2 separate regions of the Homo sapiens genome follow, and region 2 is linked to region 1. Evidence: promoter capture Hi-C in 16 types of primary human blood cells and fetal thymus (Javierre and others, 2016). All regions are on one chromosome and are shown on one strand. The core of a region is centred on a gene start or on the middle of the fragment in contact, and the rest is flanking DNA. Distances in the headings are between cores, read along the strand shown.

Region 1 (5,233 bases), core at 1,986-4,485:
ATTTAAAAATTAGCTGGGTGTGGTGATGTGTGCTTATAGAGTAATATAGTTACTCAGAAGGCTGAGGTGCAGAAAATACAAATATTAGCCATGCCTGGTGGCATGTGCCTGTAGTCCCAGCTACTCAGGAGGTTGAGGTGGAAGGATCACTTTGAGTCCAGGAGTTTGACGCTACAGTGAGATATATTCATGACACTGCACTCCAGCAGCCTGGGCAACAGAGCAAGACCCTGTTATCCCTCCAAAAAAAAAAAAAAGAAAGAAAAAGAAAACAAAATTACTCCAGATGGTAATGAATCCACAAGAAAAATAAACAAACAACCTGAAATGATAAATAAGGTTACTATAACAAAAGCTACAAATATATATTTGCTTTCCTTTGTTCATTTTCTTTAAATGATGTAAAAGTAATAATTGTAGTAATGTATTGTTGAGTTTGTAACAACTATAACATGTACAACAACAAAACCACAAAAAAACAGGGACATGGAATAAAACTATATTGGAGTAAGGTTTCTATATCTCACTGCAATTGAGTTAGTATAAATCTGAAGCTGATTCTAATAAGTTAAGCTAATTGTACGGTAAGCCCTAGAGCACCACTACAGTCTCTAAAAAAAACTTAAAACAGTGTAAAAAATCATTCAAGAAATTAAAATGCTACATTAGAAGATATTCACTTGATCCAAAACAAAGCAGTAAAGGAGAGACAGGAAAAGAAAAAGACAAGACATAAGGAAAACAAAAATAAGATGGCATACATAAATCCAACTATATCAATAACATTAAATGTGAATGATTAAACAATTGGATCAAAAGGCAGAAATTATCAGATTAAAAAAAACAAGATCCGGCCAGGCACAGTGGCTCATGCCTGTAGTCCCAGCACTTTGGGAGGCCGAGGCAGGTGGATCACAAGGTCAGGAGTTTGAGACCAGCCTGGCCAACATGGTGAAACCCCGTCTCTACTAAAAATACAAAAATTAGCTGGGCGTGGTGGCGGGCCCCTGTAATCCCAGTTACTGGGGAGGCTGAGGTGGGAGAATCGTCTGAACCCGGGAGGTGGAGGTTGCAGTGAGCCCAGATCACGCCATTGTACTCCAGCCAAGGAGGCAGGGCAAGACTCTGTCTCAAAACAAAAAACAAACAAACAAACAAAAAACAAACCAAGATCCAACTATATGTCTACAGGAGACACATTTTAGAGTCAATGATACAAAGCATGTAAATAGTAATCACGTGAGAACTGAAATAGCTACATTAATATCAGACAAAATAGACTTTAAAACAATGTTACTAGAGAAAAAGAGAAACATTTTTAATGATAAAAGGATAAACCCACAAGGAAGATGTAACAATTTACAAGGATAGATGCACCTAGTAACAGAATATATGTAGCAAAAACTGACAGAAATGAAGGGACAAATTGATACCTCAAGAACAGAAGATTAAGTCTTTCATACTCCTGTTCCAACTAGTTAGACTCCACAACAGGTAACATGACTGAAACAGAACTCTATTTAGTTTCCCCCAACTTTCAGTCTCTATCTTGGTAAGTAGCAACTGTATCTGTTTAACTGCCCAAACCAAAATTCTTTAAGTCACTTTCTCTTGAATTCCACATCCCATCAATCAGTGAATCCTATAACTTCTCCCTTCAAAATATATCCAGAACCCAATCATTTTTCCCTACTTACACCCTGATCGAAACTAACACCATCTCTCACAGAGATTACTTAAATACTCTCCTAATTGGATTGCATCTTCCTCCCCTGGTCCCTTGCAGTCTATCTCCATATGGCAGCCAAATGAGCCTTCTAAAACAAATCAGGTCACTCCTCAACCCTGAACTTACTCTGTCCAGTAAACTTTTTTTTCAAAATAATTATTTTTATTTTTATTTTATAGAGATAGGGTTTCCCTATGTTGCCCAGGCTGGCTCGAACTCCTGGGCTTAAGGGATCTTTCCACTTCAGCCTCCCAAAGTGACACAATTACAGGCCTGAGCCACTATGCCCAACCTGTCCAGTACACTTTCAGTGAAATCTAAATCCTACAAACTCCCTTTCCTGCATTACTTCCTACTCCCTTAATCACCCTACTCTCATCGCACTGGCCTCTGCCATTTTCAGCAAGTTGATAAACCCAATTTATAATATAATTCTATTTTTAGAAAACACTACAGGCCCAGCACGGTGGCTCATGCCTGTAATCCCAGCACTTTGGGAGGCTGAGGCGAGTGGATCACGAGGTCAGGAGTTCGAGACCAGCCTGGCCAAGATGGTGAAACCCCGTCTCTACTAAAAATATAAAAATTAGCCGGGCGCAGCGGCGGGCGCCTGTAATCCCAGCTACTCGGGAGGCTGAGGCAGGAGAATTGCTTGAACCCGTGAGGCGGAGGTTGCAGTGAGCCGAGGTCGCACCATTGCACCCTAGCCTGAGCAACAGAGCAAGACTCCGTTTCAAAAAATAAAAATAAAATAAAATAAAATAAAACCACTACATATATATGCATAAAAAAGGATTGCCCAAAATGTGACTATTCACCTACGGTTAGCAGGATTATAAATTTTAATTTTTAAAAAGTTTTTCCTATTGTGAAAAATTATTTCTAATTCATGTGTTACTTATAATAAAGTATATGAAAAGCTGTGTATCAAACACACAATATATTGTATAAAATATATGAAAAGCTGTGGATCAAACCCCATACCCCTACTGTGGTTAATAGTATTTAAGTATATTCAAAATCTGGAAATAAATCATACATGTCACCAAAAAACCACAACAAAAGAAAAATTTGCCTGCAGTAATACAGCATTTACTAACAATACATGCTGCAGGCACTTCCACTCATTATTTCATCTTACTCTCATAATAATTCTATGCAATCAGAACCATTATCCCCATGTTACTGTGTAAAATGAGGCTCAAAAAAGTTAAACTCTTTGAAATTGCACAGTAAGTTGTGAAGCCCAGGTCTGCCTGACTTGAATGCTCACGTTCTAAATACTAATCTAGCTACTGCCTCATCACATAGTAGTTACAAGCAACAGTGCAAAGTTGAAATAACCTAGACATACAATAACAAAGGAAAAAGAGTGTAGTTATAAAAATGCTTACTGAAACTAGAATTATGTATGTAAAAATTGGGAGACATGTTACATGAAAGAGCAAACTATCATATTCTACACGTGAGTACAAGAAAATTTAACATTTCATATGGAAAAAAGCCAAAATAAACCAATATATTCAAGTTGGTTCAGTGTGGGTAATGGAACTCTGGGTGATTTTCATTGTTTTGCTTTGTTATCCTTTGGTTTGCACCAAAATTGCTTCAATACTAACAACAAAAACAACAAAAACAAATTACGTTCTCATAAACTTTGTTTTGTAACAAAGGAAAATTCTGCCCAGTGTTCCAAACACCTCAAAGTTCCAAGTCTAGGTCTAAACCAGAGTCGTTAAGTATTCTCTGAAAAGCGATCTACTCTTAATTGACATCTGGCGACTCTACATGGACCAATGGCTTCCTCCGCAGGATGTTATGATCTTTATTTTGTTTGTAGCCTACGGAAGAATGAGCCTATTAAGAGCTTATTGAGATTGATGATTGCACAGTGTAGCTTGAAAGGTCCAAATTTAATCCGTTTCAACGGGAGGAACAAAATTCAAAACTGTTTTCAAAGTATTTCGAGAATGTGTCCCTTATCTGGAAGTAATACTTAAAACGAAGCAAACAAAGACGGTAAGAGAAAGTCACAAATGCAAGCTCGCGCCCGAAGCCAGCCTCGGGCAGGTACACTTTGGTGTGGTGTGGCGGCGGCAGGGCGCCAAGCGCCGTGGTTTTTACGGTCTCGTCAGCAAGCAGGGCCGACCTCCGCTTTATCGGACAGGACCAACGCAGGATCCGGGGCGCGGCGGCGACAGGGCCCCGAGGCAGATGCCCGAGCTAGAACTCTGGCGCCTACTTACTCCTCGGCCGGCCCGGCTGCTCCGAAAAACGACCTCACAGGAATGGCTGCAAGAGCGCCGCCGCCGGCAGGGGCTGAGGAGAACGAGCCTGGGGCTCCGGGCCCAGAGATGAGACGCTCTGGCTGGGAAGCAAGGAGCATCGGCACCGACGGATAGAGGCCGGTGGCCCTCAGGTTGAGCAGGCGGCTTCGGGGCGGGGAGAGAAGGGACCAAGGCCCACCGCAGGCCTCAGATCCTCCCACGCCTCCCCGCTGCTACCCAACGATGACGCAAGTACGCATGCGCCTCCCCAGCTGCCGCTGGGAAGAGCGCGCTCCCCAGGGCCCCGCCCCCTCCAAGGATTTCCGGGGAGGCGGGTTCCACTGCTGACTTACCGGTTTTACTCCTCTGCTCAAAAGGCGCCTGCCCGAGGCCGCTTTCCGTTGCAAAGGTTCCTGAATTTGGGGAGGAAGAGCAGCAAGACTGAAATATTGGGCATACGTTTGTTGCTTCATAAACGTTTGCTGAATGAATAAACTGATACGCCGATGTTTGCTTTAATTGTAACTCCCCCTGCCGCAGTTCCCAGTCTTTGAAAATTACAACAGCAACATAGTTTTGGGCGTGTCCTTGACAAATGTGTTTCATTCCCCAGGTAGTACCGTGCAAGTGAACTTGGTGAGAATTTTTTCAAGGAAATTTTTGCCAGCATCGATTTTTGAAACTTAGTTTTTACCATGCTCTTTAAAAAAATAAACACTTGGTTTGTTCAAATACCAACTTTAGTCACACAATCTGGCTTCAGCACCTATTGTTCGGGCCCCATATATCGTTCTCCACACTTAGGATGCTTCATCTCCACATAAAGCATAACTGCAAAATACACAGGGCAGAAGGAGACCTGGGAGATAATACTATGGTTGCAGAAATTAAGACCAGCCTGAGCTCTCGACAACAAGAAAGAGACACAGCGAAAACAAGGCATTTATTTATAATAGGCTCTTGCAAGCAAGGAAAAATAAGGCATTTTCTGATTCGAACGTAGTGCTCTATTACCCCTACTCAACAAACATTTGAATGCCAAAGAGCTGTGAGGGTGGATGCTTAACAAGCAGATGCTAAGCGAGGTTATATTTTTGTAGGAAGCAGCCTGATAAGAAAAGAGCAGATTTTCGAGTCAGATTTTAGTTCAAAAATCAGCTTTGTACTTGGGAACTCAATCATAAGCAAATTACCTTACCTCTTAGTGTCGGTTTGTTCATGTGTAAAACGTGTTAAT
Region 2 (5,233 bases), core at 1,627-4,126, 1.1 Mb before region 1:
GGCAAGCTTACCTGGGCCATCTGGGTTGCGGTGTTTCCCTTTGCCCCTAGGAGAACCATGGCCAGGGCAGAGGAGATGCTCACAGGAGAACAGAACACGTTGTGCGAAGGGTTATCTTGACACAGTATCTTTAAAAGGCGTATGGCAAAAGTACCACTTGCATTAGAAAGAGTTTCCATGATGCAGGGCCTGGAAGGGAAGAATAAAGAGAAATGCAGTTTCCACACTCCCTGAATGTTACTGACCTACTTACTACAGGGCAATTTTGGAATCGTACTTTTTGTTTTCTTCTTAAAGTTCGTAAGTATTTTAAATTGGAGAAAAATTTATTTTCTGTTAGTCTCCGGCCAAAAATTAAGTGCAAATGTTAAGGTAATTAGCTAAGTGTGGTGATGGCAGCAGCTCAAACCAGCAATAGCAACAGAACTGGCTCGCCTGCAGAGCTCGCTCTCTCACACACACACACACACACACACACAGAGCTGGAAGCAGTGAACTCCAATTCTTTCCGTAAGGACCAGATCGTCCCATCTGAGGAGGAGAATGGGGTCAGGGAGGAGGAGGAAAATGCTGTTCTTATTCTTGCATGCATTTACAAAGAGTCCTTGTGAGATTTTCAACTGGGCACCAGCCTGTGGCCTCCCTGACATTCAGCTGATACACAAAAGACACTGAGATGCTGAATCTGACCCAGAGACAGACAGCTGTGAGGCAAGGAGCTGTCATCCATAGAGGCAAGTGAGTGCGTCCTGGACAGCCGGGGTGGAGCCAGGCTGCTCCCAGTCAGCCAGCCTGCCCCAGGCCCACGCGGCCTGACATCCCAGTAACTCCATTCAGAGCTCCTGCCCATCACCAGCTTCTGCACATCATGTGACCCTTGAACACAGAGTGGGACTTGGACAATTGTGTGGTTTTGCTTCGTTTTGTTTTGTTTTTAATGTGCTTCCTAACTCAGAAACATCTATTTGGGAGCTTTACTCATTACTCCCAGCAAAAGCCATGAGTGTAGATTGTGCGTGAGAGGAAGGATCTGATCCCTGCAGAACGCCAGAATGGAAAGGCAAGAAACAGCCCAAGGTGAGGAGTAAAACAGGCGAGAACAAGGAGGTGGTGCCTGTGAAGCCACTGGAGACCAAAGTGTGAATGTGAGGGGGTGGGTCTCTTGGCCACAGGCCTGAAACCAAATGAACCCCCACCCCCAGGCTGCAGTTCCCAGTGCACTTGGAAATGAGACCCTGACTCCTCCAGGTGAGCCTGGGAGACCTCCCTGACTCCTTTCCATCTCCCCCTCCTCCCCCACACCCATCCCCAAGGCCTGCCCTCTACGCCCACATTTCTTCCCACTTCGGATTCTGTGCCTGGTCTAATGCCCAGGCCCCCTCCCGAGCCTCTGGTCTCCCTAGAGCCACTCCCCACTGTCGGGACACCTCATCTGTGCTCCCCAAAACGCCACGCAAAGCGCTGGAGAGCCTTGGACAATGAACACAACCCACTCCCCCAGCCACCCCCACGCCACAGCCACACGGCACCTCAGAAAGCGGTGTCTTAATCCTCTTGTCCTTCCTCCTAAATCTCCCAGGGGCCCTTAGGCCCCTCAAAGGTGGCCGCTCAAAGCCACCTTGTTAAAACGGTGTCTTACCCACCTGCCCCCTCCCTTGATCCAGACTCACTGAGGTCACAGCCTCCACCTCTGGCCATCCTGAACCCCTCCCAAAGTCAACTCTTCACAAACACTGTTGGTCCCCCTTAGAAGGCCCCATGTCCATCACGGCATTAATTCCACTCACCCTCAAACACCGCGGCCCGGAGGCTCTGATTCCCACCCTGGAGGAGGTTCTCTTGACCCCGCCGGCGCGACCCTCCCCAGCACGACCCTTCCTCCCGAAGGTGATTCCTCATCTTGCTGGTGGTCCCCACAGACCGCAGGCTCTGCAGGCGAGCGCTGAGCCTGGCTCTGCAGATTCTCAGGACCCCATTCGTTTAGCTGAATTATTGAAAGAATTAAGATGGATAAGAGTGCTCAGATTTGAAACTCCGAGACTGGTGGCTTTATTTTTTTGTTGTTGTTGGTGGTGGTTTTTTTGTGTTTTTCTTTTTTTTGTTTTGAGACGAAGTCTCACTCTGTCTGCCAGGCTGGAGTGCAGTGGCGCAATCCCAGCTCACTGCAACCTCTGCCTCCCGAGTTGAAGTGATTTTCCTGCCTCAGCACATAGCTGACATTATTACAGGCGTGGGCCACCATGCCCGGCTAATTTCTGTATTTTTAGTAGAGACCGGTTTTCACCACGTTTGCCAGACTGGTCTCGAACTCCTGATCTCCAAGGATCCGACCGCCTTGGCCTCCCAAAGTGCTGGGATTACAGGCGTGAGCCACTGCGCCCGGCCGAGACTGGTGACTGTAAAGGACAGTGAAGAAGCAGGACAGACGTCATCCTGCGGATCCCAGAGCAGAGAAGAGCAGTGAGAACACAGGGCCGGCAGGTGGGGAGGAGGCTGCAGGGGAGGGCTTCGGCCAGGGAAGGGCAGCGAGGAGACATCCGGGAGGGAGGCGTCCGCGGTGGCTGTGGGCCGCCAAGGCGGAGACCGGCTGCCGCTCCCAGGCACCCCCCAGAGACCGTTGCTGACCCCACCGAGAAGGCACCGCCTCCCCGGGGCTCTTGGCTGAGCGACCTCTCCTGTCCTCCGGTCCCATCACTCGGTGGCAGCCGGTGGACCTGAAGCTCGCCACTCCCGTCCCCTACCCCAGCCGTGCGCGGGGACGCCCTCACCTGCCACCTAGTCCAGCGCTGCCGCCGTCTCCGTGCCGCGCTCCGAGCCTGGACGCCGACCCCCGAGGCGCAGGACCCGGCCCTGCTGCTGCGCTCGCCGCGGACTCCCGCTAGGGCCTCTGCAGGCACCGCTTTTATACCGCAGGGTCGGGCGCCTCCCACGCTTTCTGCGTTTAGGCGGAGCCTGGCGGGACCAGCGGGGGCGCCGCGCGTGGTGGCCGAGGTCAGAGCTGGGAGCAGGGTCAGGTCAGGGTCCCCCCAGTCCGCCCCGCCCGGGGCGATGTCCGCCAATGCTCCCGCCAGCCTGAGGCCGGCCAGGTTCCCAAGGCGCGCGCTCGGCCTCACCCACCCCCGGCGCCAGGGCCTCTTCAGGACCGGGTTCAGAACCTGACAGCCCAGAGAAGTAGGTTGGGAGCCTGCGGCGTCCAGGGCCTCCGCGCGAAGAAACAAGGCGTCTGCGGGAAAGGAGACGGAGCCTGGAACCCTGGGCTTTTGTACTTAAGGAAGCGAAGGTCGGGTGACAGCCAAGCTCCGTGTTCCAGTGGGAAGGTCCCATGGGTCTGTGTTCCACGCCTCTTGTCATGAATATGGGGGATTCACTTAGAACCAAAGCATTTGTTCCAGGTCCCACCACTAACTAGTACTAGTCCTGGGCCCAGAACCAGGCGTCCTCACTCCTAGTACCCAAGCCCTTCTCTAGCCACAGGTGTTTGGGCTGCGGTGTGGTGTAAGCAGCCCCATTTTCCCGCAAAGTGATGGGAAGAGACACTGAGTCACACGGGCTCAGGACACTCCTTGTGTCCTCTATCAGGGGGTCCAGAGGCAGGGACTCGGGGGAGTTGATGCAGCAGTTCGTGATGTCATCAGATATCCCCCCACCCCCTTCCATCTCAGGCTGGACTCAATTGGAAGCATTTCATGTTGGCACGGTGACGTCCAGAGGAAGGGAACAGACAAATGGCTCTCTCTGGAGCACGGAGCGTCGCCCAGAAGCCGTGCCCTCCTGTTTCAAATTGACCAGAATTAGAGCTTTCTCCTGAGGGCCTGAATTAGGGAGAAGCAAGGCAGGTGCCTAAGGCACAAAATTTCAGGAGGGCCACACGCATAGGTGCCAACCCTGCATTTGCGCGGCCCTGAGAATCAGAGCCTCCTTCAATTTGACACCCTAGGTGCCTAGCTTGTTTTTAAAAATAAAACCTTTATTAAAAGACAATTCACGGACCATAATATGCATCCTTTTAAAGCATACAATTCAATAGTTCTTGGTATATTGACAAAGCTGTCCAACTCTCACCACTATCTAACTCCAGAAGGTTTTCATCACCCTAAAAGGAACTGTGATACCCATTAGCAATTATTCTCCATTTCCTCCTTCCCACAACCCCTGGCTTCTGGGAGAGGCTCCGACCTCCAGATTTCTTTTCTGGCCCTGCGGATTGACCGACTGTGAAGATTTCATGCAAATTGAATCATACAATATGTGGTCTTTCCTGACTGCCTTCTTTCACTTAGCATAATGTTTTCAAGGGTCATTCTTGATGGTTCCAGGTAGCATTTGTTAGTACTTTATTTCTTTTTATAACTGAATAATACTTATAAAAATATTATAAAATCAAAAGGGAAATTAGAATGTATTTTGAAATTAATAAAAAATGAAAATAAAAACATCAAAATTTGTAGGATGTTATTAAGTCAGCTTTGGGGAAATTTTGCAGCATGAAATGCCTATATTAGGAGAGGAGAAAGGCTTCAAATCAATGACCTCAGTTTCTACCTTCAAAAACTAGAAAAAGTATAAATACATTGAACACATAATCAGTAGAAAAGAAGAAATAATAAAGATTAGAGAATAAATCAATGATATAGAAAACTTTATAATGATAGAGACAATTGATTAAACAAAAAGCTGTTATTTATTTATCCACTTATTTATTTTTTTGAGGTGGAGTCTTGCTCTATCGCCTAGGCTGGAGAACAATGGCGTGATCTTGGCTCACTGCAACCTCCACCTCCCAATTCCAGCGATTCTCCTGCCTCAGCCTCCCAAGTAGCTGGGACTATAGGCATGCATCACCATACCCAGCTAATTTTTGTATTTTTAGTAGAGATGGGGTTTCACCATGTTGGCCAGGCTGGTCACGAACTCCTGACATCAGGTGATCCTCCCGCCTCAGCCTCCCAAAGTGCTGGGATTACAGGCGTGAACCACTGTGCCTGGCCATACCCATGAATTTTAAGGCAACAAATGGGGGCATCGTTGTCAGTGCCATTGCAAGAAAGTGTCTGAGTAAACGTGGACCATGATGGCATAGTGCAAACATGTTAGCTGCCTCTGTGCTCCGAGGCCTAGAGGAAACGTCCTTTCAATCCAAATCATGTGACCAGCGATGGAAAATGGGTTTAGGAAAGGATAAAAACACAGAACTATGAAAACAAGGTTATTTTAGCTTTTCCTTTCCTTTCTC

The links. The method cuts DNA at HindIII sites, captures the fragments that hold promoters and counts their contacts. A CHiCAGO score of 5 or more calls a contact.
Region 2: the fragment with the promoter of SERPINB9 here is called in contact with a fragment that was not itself captured in region 1 in 1 of 17 cell types (activated CD4 T cells); the score reaches 5.3 in activated CD4 T cells.

What each region holds. Positions count from the first base shown.
Region 1 is chr6:4,014,471-4,019,703 of GRCh38, forward strand. LOC124901245 (a long non-coding RNA gene) reads right to left here. Exons shown (of 2, transcript XR_007059415.1): 1 at 4,350-5,233. Among named protein-coding and RNA genes, the nearest start is that of PRP4K, 4.2 kb to the right of the region's middle. RefSeq lists an enhancer at 4,082-4,131. The HindIII fragment of the contact is 6,943 bases long and covers 1-5,233 here.
Region 2 is chr6:2,900,433-2,905,665 of GRCh38, forward strand. SERPINB9 (serpin family B member 9) reads right to left here and starts at 2,877. Exons shown (of 7, transcript NM_004155.6): 1 at 2,769-2,877; 2 at 12-189. The coding sequence starts at 179. SERPINB9-AS1 (SERPINB9 antisense RNA 1) reads left to right here. Exons shown (of 5, transcript NR_110841.1): 5 at 51-244. RefSeq lists an enhancer at 2,341-2,842 and silencers at 2,553-2,602, 2,843-2,922, 3,023-3,072. The HindIII fragment of the contact is 13,362 bases long and covers 5-5,233 here.